2 separate regions of the Homo sapiens genome follow, and region 2 is linked to region 1. The links are contacts of gene promoters, found by promoter capture Hi-C in blood cells and fetal thymus (Javierre and others, 2016). All regions are on one chromosome and are shown on one strand. Each heading gives the region's core, a stretch centred on a gene start or on the middle of the fragment in contact. The rest is flanking DNA. Distances are from core to core; before and after follow the strand shown. Region 1 holds the start of UST-AS2 (UST antisense RNA 2). Region 2 has its middle 96 kb from the start of UST-AS2.

The links. The method cuts DNA at HindIII sites, captures the fragments that hold promoters and counts their contacts. A CHiCAGO score of 5 or more calls a contact.
Region 2: a contact is called between a fragment that was not itself captured here and the fragment with the promoter of UST-AS2 in region 1, in 1 of 17 cell types (megakaryocytes). The highest score is 5.2, in megakaryocytes.

The regions. Positions count from the first base shown.
Region 1 is chr6:149,028,687-149,035,005 of GRCh38, reverse strand. It overlaps UST-AS2 (UST antisense RNA 2), which reads left to right and starts at 2,345. Exons shown (of 2, transcript NR_134599.1): 1 at 2,345-2,481. All of the region lies in intron 7 of UST (uronyl 2-sulfotransferase), which reads right to left. RefSeq lists an enhancer at 1,752-1,941. The HindIII fragment of the contact is 1,599 bases long and covers 1,952-3,550 here.
Region 2 is chr6:149,125,886-149,132,204 of GRCh38, reverse strand. No RefSeq gene overlaps it. Among named protein-coding and RNA genes, the nearest start is that of UST-AS2, 96 kb to the right of the region's middle. RefSeq lists a silencer at 2,526-2,585. The HindIII fragment of the contact is 5,450 bases long and covers 1-5,278 here.

The DNA of each region.
Region 1 (6,319 bases), core at 1,096-3,595:
CAGAAATAGAAGACAGGAGTTTTAAGCCTGAAAGTATCCACTAAATATTTAGCACACATACCGAGTCATATTGTAAAATTTCATAAAAGGAATAAAGAGACAATCCAAGGAGAGAGAGAGAGAGAGAGAGAGAGAGAGAGAGAGAGAGAGAGAGAGAGAGAGAGAGAGAGAATGAGCATGAATATGAGAACCAAACTAGCCATCAAGTTAGAGTAGAATACTGAGCTTTTCAGACCTTCAATGACTCAAAAAAAATTTCCCTCCCATGCACCTTTCATGAGGAGGCAACTTAGGAACATCTTGAAGTAAAATGAGTTATTAAATCAAGAAATAGCATCCCCGAGATTAAGAAAACTGGACCCAACTGAGAAACATAGTAAAGGGAAGCTGCAGTAAAGCTGTGTTTAGAGTAATGAACCCAGATATACTAGGAGCAGGAGCTTTCTTGGTGGAAAGAGGAGAGGGCCTCTGGGGGAAGGGAGGGCAGGCTGGGATAGAGCTTAAAGAGCTCTGGGTGGAAAGAGGAGAGGGCCTCTGGGGGAAGGGAGGGCAGGCTGCGATGGAGCTTAAAGAGCTCTGGGTGGAAAGAGGAGAGGGCCTCTGCGGGAAGGGAGGGCAGGTTGGGATGGAACTGACATACTTATCTGGTAATTAATATTTAAATAATACCAAAAGTAATACTGAATGCGGCAGATCTAATGGCACATACGAAAATTTTGGCACATACGAAATTTTTGATAGGTACAAATAAATCTAGGCAAATAAATGAAGGCAATAAATAATTCCAGGAAAAACAATTAAGTTGTGCAAGAAATGAAACAAAATCATGATGTACTACTCTGATCAGCAGCCAACAAAATGTATATAGTCACAGCAACGTCAGCAGGACCATGCATCTCAAATGTGGGTATGACCATCTTAGGAAGATGGAGAGGAGCAAGGAAGTAGAAGTAAAGGTAATGGAATAAGAGAATGAGATCATGACCCCAGTAAATCAAGAAACAGCAGCCTGTGCATACTAGTTACAGATAGCGCGGTGATTATCCGAAGAAACATCTAGCTGCGCTGAAAGTGATTGGCTCTGCAACATCAGACTTCATCTTTGGGAGGGTTGGAATAGGAAACTGCTGGTTTTCATTATACATCTTATAGGACTATTTGATTTTTAATTATATACATGCATTACTTAATAGATATAGCAAAAAATGCAGGGAGGTAAAATCCTAGGAACACATGTTTTGAAAAACAGTTCTGGTAGAGTCTGGTTGACAATGCAGCAGAAGCATCTAGAAGCGTATGCTATGGTAAAGACGAGGGGCGGGGTGAGACCTTCAAGTCAAGTGAAACTACCCCACCTGACAAACAACCCTCTCTTCTTCTCATCAGTGTGGGATTATGTTGGATTTTTCTATGCGTTTGTAGGTAATGAAATGAACGTGCTTACTAGAACCCACAAGAAACCACACATAAAAATCCCCAGCAATGTTATATACACAGGTATATTTCTAGCTTTTTGCTGTATTCTTTCACAATTCTGTGCCATTTGCAAGATGTGAAAAGCTAGGACATTATGTATTGATAAAAATGTCTGAGACATGAAAAATATACAGACCAAGAAATATTTTTATTTGAAAAAGATTTAGCCAGACAAAAATAGAAGCTTCCATTATAAAATGTTGAGTCATGCAAAATGGGTAAGGATTGTACTTCGCCCCGGCAGGGGGTACATTTTATAAGCAAAGAATGTCAGAGAGCTAAGGCCACGAGCCAAGGGCCCAAAGACAGTTTTGAAATCCTTTGTCTAGTGCTCTTTCCACATCACCACATTAATTCCTGGGGTGGACAGGGACCTTGACAATTTAAGCATAAAAGAACAAACTGACCACAAGGTCGTTTTTATAAAGATCAACCATCAACCCCTGGGGTCAAGTTTCCAATCTTTGCTCAAGCTTTAGAAGCCTTTCAGCTTTGTGGCGTTATCAGGAAAGTCCAAAAATTGAAATTTGTGGTGACTAATTCCACCCCCTACAAATACTCAATGCAGAGCATATTACTGTCAGCTCAGCTAAAAACTGCTCAAAGTAGAAGTGATTAAATTCTAAAGTAGAAAAAAATTCACCTCCAAACACAGAAACACACTGGTACCTCCCCCGCACACCCAGATATTATTAGCCAGCTTTTTGCCTGGGGAAATGAATCATGAGACAGAAAACTGTACAACCCCCAAGTCTGACCACACTGAGTAACTGGGGTAGACACAGAGGGGGGCATCTGGGGCTCTCCCGAGGCCAAGGTTGGGACCCAGAAGAGATGAATTTCCCTGGGTGCACAGGGTGGGAGGGAGGTGGGGCTGGAAGAACTTGATCTGGAGGGATGATCCCGAAGGCTCCCAGTGAAGAAGGCCAGGAAGAGCAGAGGATGGTGCCAGGAGGATGATGTCGGGGGACACAGGCAGCTCATGCCTGGATCAGGCAGTGACTGGTAACAGAAGGAGAGTCCATGCTGGTGGGCCCAGGGGAACATAGGTGGTCAAGCAGGGCAGTACTTGGTGTCTGGGGATGCAGTGTGCGACCTCCTGTATTCGGTGCGAGGCACATGGGGCCAGCAGGAGCTGGTGTGAGCCCGGGTCTGAAGGGTGGTGGGATCTTAGTGGGGAAGACTGGGAAGACAGCAGGGAGGAAGAACTCAGGCTGGAGGAGGATGGGGGCCTGGGAGGATCCCTGCCACACTGTTAGGAAGCCAGGGAGCTTGGGTGGTGGTAGGATGGGAAGAGGGCAGGGAAACGGGGGGAGGGTGACACAGGCCCTCCGGCAGCAGCGGCTTGGCCACTGGCGCTGAGATTGGTATGAGTGACTCAGTGCCAGGTTGCGCCACAGAAAGCTGAGGCTGCGGATCCTTCTCCTGCCTCTGGTAGGGCCGTCTTAAAGGCAGGGTGAGTGAGCCTGGCTCCAAGAGGCTGGGTCCGCAGGCAGGGGCTGACGTGGGCTGGCCCAAGCCCCAGCTCTCCTCACTCTGAGTGCTTCTATGCTTTCTCACCTCCACGCTTCCAATCATGTTATTTTCCTCTTATTAAAATGCCTCCTTCCACGTCCACTTGGCAAACTCCTACGCACCCTTTAAGGCCGGGCACAAATGTCTCCACAGGGTTATGCGCCCCAGCCCTGTTAGTGACGGCCTTCCAGCTAGACAAGATTTTCATCTTTATACTGCCCTTCCCCAGGAAAGGGACATCACAGACACTCAGCTATTTATTTGCTGGAGGTGTTTGTTGAATTTTTCTGGTAGTTTCAGATTACACCTATTTAAATATTAGTTTTCAGAGAAGAGAAATATTTTTGTAAAGTTATTCCTAGAACATCAATGTCTGTGAAGGAAGTTCTATTTTCCTGTTAATCTTTCATAATAAAATTGGAAATGCTTTCTCCTGGAGGAGAGATGATCCCAACGCAAGAACAAATCAGTAAGCAAGAGTAAAACATGTTTTCCAATAAAACAAAGAGTAATAGTTGAAATAGGCCAAACGCACATATATTATGCTGCAATTTAAGCTTTCATAAAGTAAATTAAACAAGCCTAGAGGCTGAATTCTTGTGAATTGGTGATGTTTCTGTAAACTGAATGATGTTATCAGCCTGTGGTTATACAGTTCCCCTCAGAAAAATGTTCACTAAAAAAAATCACAAGTGTTTAGAAGTTAAAGGGGTTTACATTATGTGTTCATTTTTAATGAACTATTTGCCCAGTAGCTACAGCTGAACCAGTTATATGCCTTCAGCTTAGACTTTTTTTTTTTTTTTTTTGAGATGAGTCTTGCTCTGTGGCCCAGGCTAGAGTGCAATGGCTCGATCTCAGCTCACTGCAACCTCCACCTTCCGGGTTCAGGCAATTCTCCTGCCTCAGCCTCCTGAGTAGCTGGGATTACAGGCATGTGTTGCCATGCCTGGCTAATTTTTGTATTTTTAGTAGAGATGGGGTTTCACCATGTTGGCCAGGCTGGTCTCGAACTCCTGACCTTGTGATCCACCTGCCTTGGCTTAACAAAATGTTGAGATTACAGGCATGAGCCAGCATGCCCAGCCCAGCTTAGATTTTTAGACACTATCTTAAAGACCTTGCACTGCTATTCCCTACGTCCCCGCAACCCCCACTGGAAAGACGTCAGGTGTTGTCAAACAGATCTATTCTCAAAATTATTTTTTTCTGTGTGTATTGCCTCGTACTGGCTTAAGATAACACACTGGCTTAAGATAACACATCTTGTGTGTGTGTTAAGGTAACACACACACAAGATCCAGTGCTGACATTATTAGGATCTGAGCCTGGGACATGGCTGCTGAAAAAAAAAATCTTTATAGAGAATATCGATGGTAAATGAACCAATAGCAAATTGAAGTCCTGTTTTCATCAATGATAATTGAGTTTTTAAAAACAATCATCTATGATGATTCCTAAACTCATGTTTCTTAGTGAACAGACAGATACGTTGGACAGAGATAAACTATATATTTAATTTTAATTTTTTTTTTTTGGTAGAAACAGGATCTTGCTGTTGCTCAGGCTGGTCTTGAATTCCTAGGCTCAAGTGATCCTCCTGCCTTGGCCTCCCAAGGTGCTGGGGTTACAGGTATAAGCCACAGTGCCCAGCCTAGATTTTATTTTTAAGCTCTTGCCTTTAATGGCAATACATACTATGAATGCTTAGTACTCACTAACTTCTGAATTAATGATTAAATATAAAGAAGAGTTTTAGAGGAATCACAGATTTATGTTTTGTGATGGGCCTGGGGACAGAAGCGTGAATGTCAGTGCTGTCCCTTAGGACTTGGCGAGACTGTGAGCAAGTTGTTCAGCCTCTTTGAGCCTTGGTTTCCTTGTTTAGAAAATGAGAAAAAAAAATTGTCTTCCTCAACTTCAGGGGATTTGTGTAAGAATCAAATGAGATCATCTATATGAAAGTGTTTTATAACTGCATATTGTTATACAAGTAATTATGACTTAGAAACTTACTGATTTTGTGATCTTAAGATGATTGCATCATGTATGAGTGCTATATAATAAGGAGTCTAGTTGTTTGAACATGGGTAGGTGCACACACCACACACACACACACACACACACACACACACACACACACACACAAGATCCAGTGCTGACATTATTAGGATCTGAGCCTGGGACATGGCTGGTGAAAAAAAAATCTTTATAGAGAATATCGATGGTAAATGAACCAATAGCAAATTGGAGTCCTGTTTTCATCAATGAAAACTGAGTTTTTAAAAACAACTTAATTGCCTTCTAAAAATAGCTAATCTGAATTCCTCCTAACCATCATTGTATACTTGGGAGTTTCCAGAATATTTTTGAGTTTTGCTGCAGCACAGAAGCAATAGAAGTGGAAAATAAAAATGGAAATTAAAAATGAAAGAGAGAATTTGTTTAATTCAGGCTTTCTAAAATGTTAGTTTTTAAAACTAAAGCCAGAGTTAGTGGTGTATCTATATAATATATACATTATATATTATATATACATTATATATATAATATATAATGTATATATAATATAATATAATATAATGTATACAATATAATGTATATATTTTATATATAATATATAACATACAATATATACATTATATATTACATATAATTTATATATAATATATAACGTACAATATATACATTATATATTACATATACTTTATATATAATTTAGATATACATGTATATACTTTTAACTCACATAAACTTATTTGATTGCAAAACTCCACCCTCTTCCCCTAGTCTCCACTGGCTTTCATAAAGTGCAGTTTGAACTACTGCAATCAATTGGACTTGGAATCCTTTTCATATCCAAAAATCTCATTTTTAGGCCTCAAATTGGACATAATTGTACATCTGTGTTCAAGCGTTATGTAAACTCCCGTCTGCAGAGCAAAGTCTATTAGGGAACCTAGTGCACTTTCTTGAGAAAATGGAGAGACATCGCCACCTGCTGGACAAAGGTTATTAATTCATTAATTTAGTGTTCTGAAGTACGTAATTCTGCACATGGAAAACAGTTTTTCAAGAGCTGAATCTTAGGAATCTTACTTAAAAAAACTCTATTATCATTCTATGTCTATTAAATAACATGGAATATAACAGTCAGCAAAATTCAATATTCAGCATAAGTTAAGGGTAGTTGGCCCCAATAACGTCTCAACAGTGGGTTTCATTTAGTGAAAAGTCTTAGCTCCCTAATATTTCTGGTAAGAGTTCAGGCATAAAAACCTCATTAACTTGGATTATGTGTGTCTTCCAGCCCCTTAGCATGTCACTG
Region 2 (6,319 bases), core at 1,304-3,803, 97 kb before region 1:
GGCTCTTTGGTGTCTCCCAGTCCTGATGTATCCAGTCTCACCCCGTAAGTTCATTGGAAGGAAGAGTGAAGAGAGAACCAAGGGAGCAGAGACTCAAGAAAGAGAACAGAGCCTCATACGTCACACTCCCAGGGAGTATAAGGAGTGTGTGGCCAACTCCTCCACCCGTAGCTGGGAAAGTTGGAATGATTCTAACCTCTTTGTGTGATAACTCCTCAAATTCTAGCACGGGGATAATAGAGGCTTGTTGTGAGAATTAGATAAAATAATGTATAAAAGCTGTTGGAATATTTTACTGGCTTTATAAATGTCAACTATTTTCATTAAAGTATATATAAGCTCTTGCTTTTCCTAGTATAAGCTCTTCTCCTATGGTGGCCCAATGGCATCCCTAATGATTTCACCATGCCCTGGTTCATGTCAGGGTTCCTCCCTTTTGGGATTCTCTGAGCTTCTTTTGTAGATAGAATGTGTGGCTTTTGGGGAAATAGAGGCATTGCAGGATCAGAGCATAAGTCCAGAAGGAATCTTGACAGTCTTCTAATTCCCACATTAGAAACTCATAGGATGGAGCCAGAACTGGGCTGGAGAGGATTTTCAGCATTCCTCTCCAGCCCAGCAGGTCAATGGGGACTTTGATAAAACCATAATGAAGATGATGAGGGGTGCAGGGTCTTCCTGCTTCCCTTTCATCCTCTCCAACTTCCCAGCTGCCCTTCCTTGTGGTACCCAGGGCCACCTTCAGTGTGTGGTCCAGGATGGATCCAGGCCTTTTCTCATGAGCTCAATAAACCTCATTCCCTGGGAGAAGCATCATGATTGGGCTTTAGGAGGTCATCTGATTCTGGTGATATTTACTGGTAGAAATGGCTGATATATGGGATCACTTGGCAGTATTTAATACCTTTTAAAAGAGAAGCCCATTAACCAAGATTATGGTAGAATGTGGTACATTTTTTAGCTTGGAGGGCCTTTCATTCTCCACCAATATTTCAGAAAATCAGGAGTTAGTAAATCAGTACTGTTGGCTGCTAGTCACTGATTCAGAGAGCCTTCTCCTCAGCCATATTGGGGTTTTATTAAAAAAAATATTCGGGAAGGAGATTGTCTACTTCATCACATAACTCTCCTTGACTGTTCAATGATCCTCACTATCAGGATGTTTTCTCTTGTATCTAAGCTAAATCCTGTCCGTGTTGTTTGATCCATTTTATTTCCTCTTGTCCTGCCCTTAGTGGAAACAGAAAACAGCTGGTGACTGTTTCTTGCATACAACAAAGGATTCTGGCTTCTAAGCCTATTCAATTAAAAGGAAACTCACTAAAGCAGCCACCCCCATTGCAGAGCTCTGGGGCCCCAACTCTAACTGCTGGGCTAGGGTCTTGCACTTCAGAAAACCAGAGGCACCACCATATACCAGTTTTATGTCCTTGCCGTGTGTGTGACAAATCCTGTGTTTAACTTGGGCGAGCTTCAGAAGGTTCTCGTTGTACCACATTCCAACTAAGAGCCTGCCACAGGAGGCCTGCATTTGAACTCTGTTGACGTTCTCCACAACCTTTCAGACTTCCCTAATGGAGCCGACAAAGTAGCTGCCACGGAGGACATGGATACTGTCACCATCGTGGAAACATAGTGTTTATCCACTTGGAAAAAAGGGGGAGTATGGAGAGTGTCAATACATAAAACTGCAGGGCCAATTCCCTGTGCACTCTTCTTTATACTATTCAGCAATTCATTTCATGGAGCAAGACTCCTTAGCCAGCTTGGTGAAAAAAAAAGGGGAGACATGTTTCATTTGTATTGAACTCAGGACTCTGACTTGAATGTGGTTAGAATACAAGTCTATGCCGAAAGGTTCTTGCAAATGCAGCAAAAACACTTCTGAAATAGGAATCAATGTTCAGGTTTTTCCCTGGCAAGTTTATCTTTGCTGTGTCATTCACTGCTTTTCAAGTAGGATCTAGGGACTGGTGTAGAGTTCCAGAAAGTAACTCATAATAATAAAAATGAACATTTAGTGAACACACATGCCAAGTATTTGATGCATATTAACTCCTAATTCTTTCAACAATGCTCTGAAGTAGGCACTGCTGCTATCCCCATGATATAGATAAAGAAACTGAGGCACAGAAAGATTAGGAACTTGCCCAAAGTATCTGTTATAGCAAGAGGTAGAGACATAACTTGAATCCAGGCAGTTTAGTTCCAGAGCCCAGACTCTCAGCCAAGCATGACATGACATCTGTGCCCAAAGCCATGAGTCAAATACGGCCACCGCTCTGAAAATTCCTGTTGCTCAATGATGAGTAGTTCGACACATCATTTTTTTTTTTACAGTGATAAAACAGATGTAGCATGTAGTCTTACGCAAACATGCAAAATCAAAGAATTTTTAGTATGCAGTGAATTGCTTCAAGCTGCACCTTGGTGTCCTGGGGCATGTACTTCACCTCCTCTGATGTCTGGGGTAGTACGCTGATGAAAAATGTAAGAGCTACAGTGGCGTTCCTTACCTCTTCCTCTTCTCAGTTCCCCTGCACTGAAGCCAGAGGTCAGAGGTCAGATGTTAGGTGCTGATAAGACAATCTCCTGTCATGTTTTTTTCGACCATTGCTCTACCTCCTTTTTTCTGGTATGGTCAAGGATAGGAAAGGGGTTGTGATGGTTAATACTGAGTGTCAACTTGATTGGATTGAAGGATACAAAGTATTGGTCCTGGGCATGTCTGTGAGAGTGTTGCTAAGAGATTAACGTTTGAGTCAGTGAGCTGGGGAAGGCAGATCAACCCTTAATCTTGTGGGCTCAATCTAATCAGCTGCCAGCGAATATAAAGCAGGAAGAAAAACGTGAAAAGGAGAGACGGGCCTAGCCTCCCAGCCTACATCTTTCTCCTGTGCTGGATGCTCCTTGCCCTCGAACATCGAACTCCAAGTTCTTCAGTTCTGGGACTCTGACTGGCTCTCCCTGTCAGCTTGCAGACAGCCTATTGTGGGACCTTGTGATCATGTAAGTTAATACTTAGTAAACTCCCCTTTATATCTATCTGTGTATCTACCTATGTATCTATGTATGTATGTGTCTATTATCTATCTATCTATCTATCTATCTATCTATCTATCTATCTATCTATCATCTATCTATCATCTATCTATCTGTCCTATAGGTTCTGTCCCTCTAGAGAACCCTGACTAATACAGAGGCAGAGCTGGGTCATGCCAGTGGCCTTATCACAGGGTGAGGAGGGAGCATTTCCTTAGATGCTGGGGCCCACATCCCAGAAGTAGGGTCTGTGTACCGTGGCTGCTCAGTCACTCTTTGTGTCCTTCCCGGGCTCCTGATGCCCCACCACTGGTGGGTTGCCCTCCCTCCCCAGTGCTCTGGGCAGGAAGAAATGGAGCTACTCTCCATGCTCATCTGCATCTCAGCTGTCTGTTGACGACACCACAAAACTGTCAAAAGATGAGGAGAGTCCTTTCTGGTCTTGATATGTGTTTGTGCCACACTTCACCACACTTCCTGCCTTTCTGGGAATCAGGAACACAGGGTTCAGCAAAGCGGGACCCTTATCAGCTCTTCCCCCATTGCCTGTTTACAAGAAGAAGCCAACACACAGCTGGAGGACCTCCTGTGGGTGGGGCTTGAACACCACCAAGAGCTGTGCTCCCTTTCTCACTCAAGGCTCAATTGCTGGTGAGCAGCAAGTTTGCGTTGGCAAAACAAATTCACTCTGCTGACCTTGTTTTACTCCTTTCTCTTCCCCATTGGATTATTACAAACAAAATGCTAAGAAAGACTGTGCTTATAAAATGCACCTGGATCACGAATAGTGTGCTGAACCAGAGTCTCATTTGAGAATTTTCTCCTTCTACTGTTTATATGACCTTTTTCTCTTTCATGTGTGTGTTTTTAATTAAACCTTTTATTTTTAAATAACCATAGATTCACATGCAGTTATAAAAAAATAAAGAGAGATCTCCTGTACCCTTTACCCAGTTTACCCCAATATTAACATTCTATAAAACAGTAGTACAGTATCACAACCAGGATATTGATATTGATATAGTCAACGTACAGAACAATTCCATCATTGCCAGGACCCCTCGTGTTGGTCTTTTATAGCCACATCTATTTCCCTCTCTTCTTAACCACTGCCACCCACTAATCTGTTCCCCATTTCTATAATTTTGTCATTTAAATAATGTTATGTATGGAATTAAATGTGGGATTAGCTTTTTTACTGAGCATAATTCTCTAGAGACTATGTGTATCAATAGCTAAATTCTTTTTATTACTGAGGAGTATTCCTTGGTAAGAATGTACCAAAGTTTGTTTAACCATTCACTCATTGAAAGACATCTAGGTTGGCTGGGTGTGGTGGCTCACATCTGTAATCCCAGCACTTTGGGAGGCTGAGGAGGGCGGATCACGAGGTCAGGAGTTAGAGACCATCCTGGTTAACACAGTGAAACCCCGTCTCTACTAAAAATACGAAAATTAGCCGGGTGTGGTGGTGGGTGCCTGTAGTCCCAGCTACTTGGGAGGTTGAGGCAGAAGAATGGCTTGAACTCAGGAGGCAGAGCTTGCAGTGAGTCGAGATAGCACCAGTGCACTCCAGTCTGGGCAACAGAGCAAGACTCCTTCCCCCACAAAAAAGAAAGACATCTAGGTTGTTTTTAGTTTTTGACTATTAGTAAGAAATCAGATATAAAAATTTGTGCTCAGGTATTGGTATGAATGTAAGTTTTATTTCTCTGGGATAAATGCCCAGGAATGTAATTGCTGAGTCATATGGTAGTTGCAAGTTTATTTTTTTAAGAAACTGCCAACTGTTTTACAAAGTGGCTATACCATTTTACATTCCCACCAGCAATGCATGAATGATGCAGTTTCTCTGCATCCTGGTTATCCTGATAGATTGTAGTAATATCTCATTGTGCTTTTAATTTACATTTCCCTGATAGCTAAAGATGTTGAATATCTTTTTGTTTAACTTCATTGTCATCTGAATACACTCTTCTGTGAAATGCCCCTTATGTCTTTTCCCCATTTTTCAACCAGGACTGTTGAGTTTTTTTACTGATAAGTTTTGAGAGTTCTTTATATATTCTAGATACTAATCCTTTGTTGGATATGTGGTTTGCAAATATTTACTCCCAATCTGTGGTTTGTCTCTTTAACCTCTTAACAGTGTTTTTTGCAAAACAAAAACTTTTAATTTTGATGAAGGCAAATTTATCAATTTTTCTTTTATGGATCATGATTATGGTATCAAGCTTAAGAAGTCTTTGCCTAGCTCTAAATCATGAAAATTTGATTATATTTCCCCCTAAACATCTTATAGTTTTACATTTAAGCCTGTGGCCCATTTTGAATTAATTTTTGGAGAAGGCGTGAGACAGAGGTCTAGGTTCATTTTTTTTGCCTGTGGATGTCCAATTGCTCTAACACCATTTATTGAAAATGACTCTTTACTCTGCTGGACTGCATGTTCATCATTGTCAAAAGTCGATTGGGCATATTTGTCTGAGTTGAGTTCTTCCTTTTTTTTTTTTCTGGAGATGGGGTTTCACAACGTTGCCAAGGTTGAAGTACAATGGCTATTCACAGGTGCAATCGTAGTGCACCCCACCCTCAAACTCCTGGCCTCAAGCGATCCTCCTGTCTCAGCCTCCTGAGGAGCTGGGACTATAGGCACTAGCTATTGTGTCTGGCTTGTGTGAGTCCAGTTTTAGGTTCTCTATTCTGTTTCATTGATCAATGTGTCCATTCCTCTGCCAATACCATACAGTATTGATTACTTATATAATATTCCTTATTTCAGAAGTAACATTTAACATTACATATTATGTAATGGCTCAAAATTAGATAGATTTCTCCCACTATTCTTTTTTTTCAATTTTTTAAGCTAGTCTAGTTCCTTTGCTTTGTCATATATATTTTAGAACAATATTTTGTCTCTCTTGCAAGGACTTTGATAGAAATTGCATTCAAACTTTATGCTAATTTGGGGAGAATTGATATCATTATGTTGAGTCTTCTAATCTGTGCATATACGTCTATTTATATAGATCCTCTTTAATTTCTCTGATCAGCATTGTGCATTTTTCAGCATATGGATCACATATATAGTTTTCCAGATTTACACCTAAGTATTTAATTTTTAAAGTAATCATAAATAGTATTATATGTGTTTCAATTTTCTTTGTTAAAAATAAATTTAATTGTGTATATTTGAGATTTACAACATGATGTTATGAGACAGATATAGATAGTAAAATCATCATCTGTGAGATGATAAATACGTAAATTTGTTTTA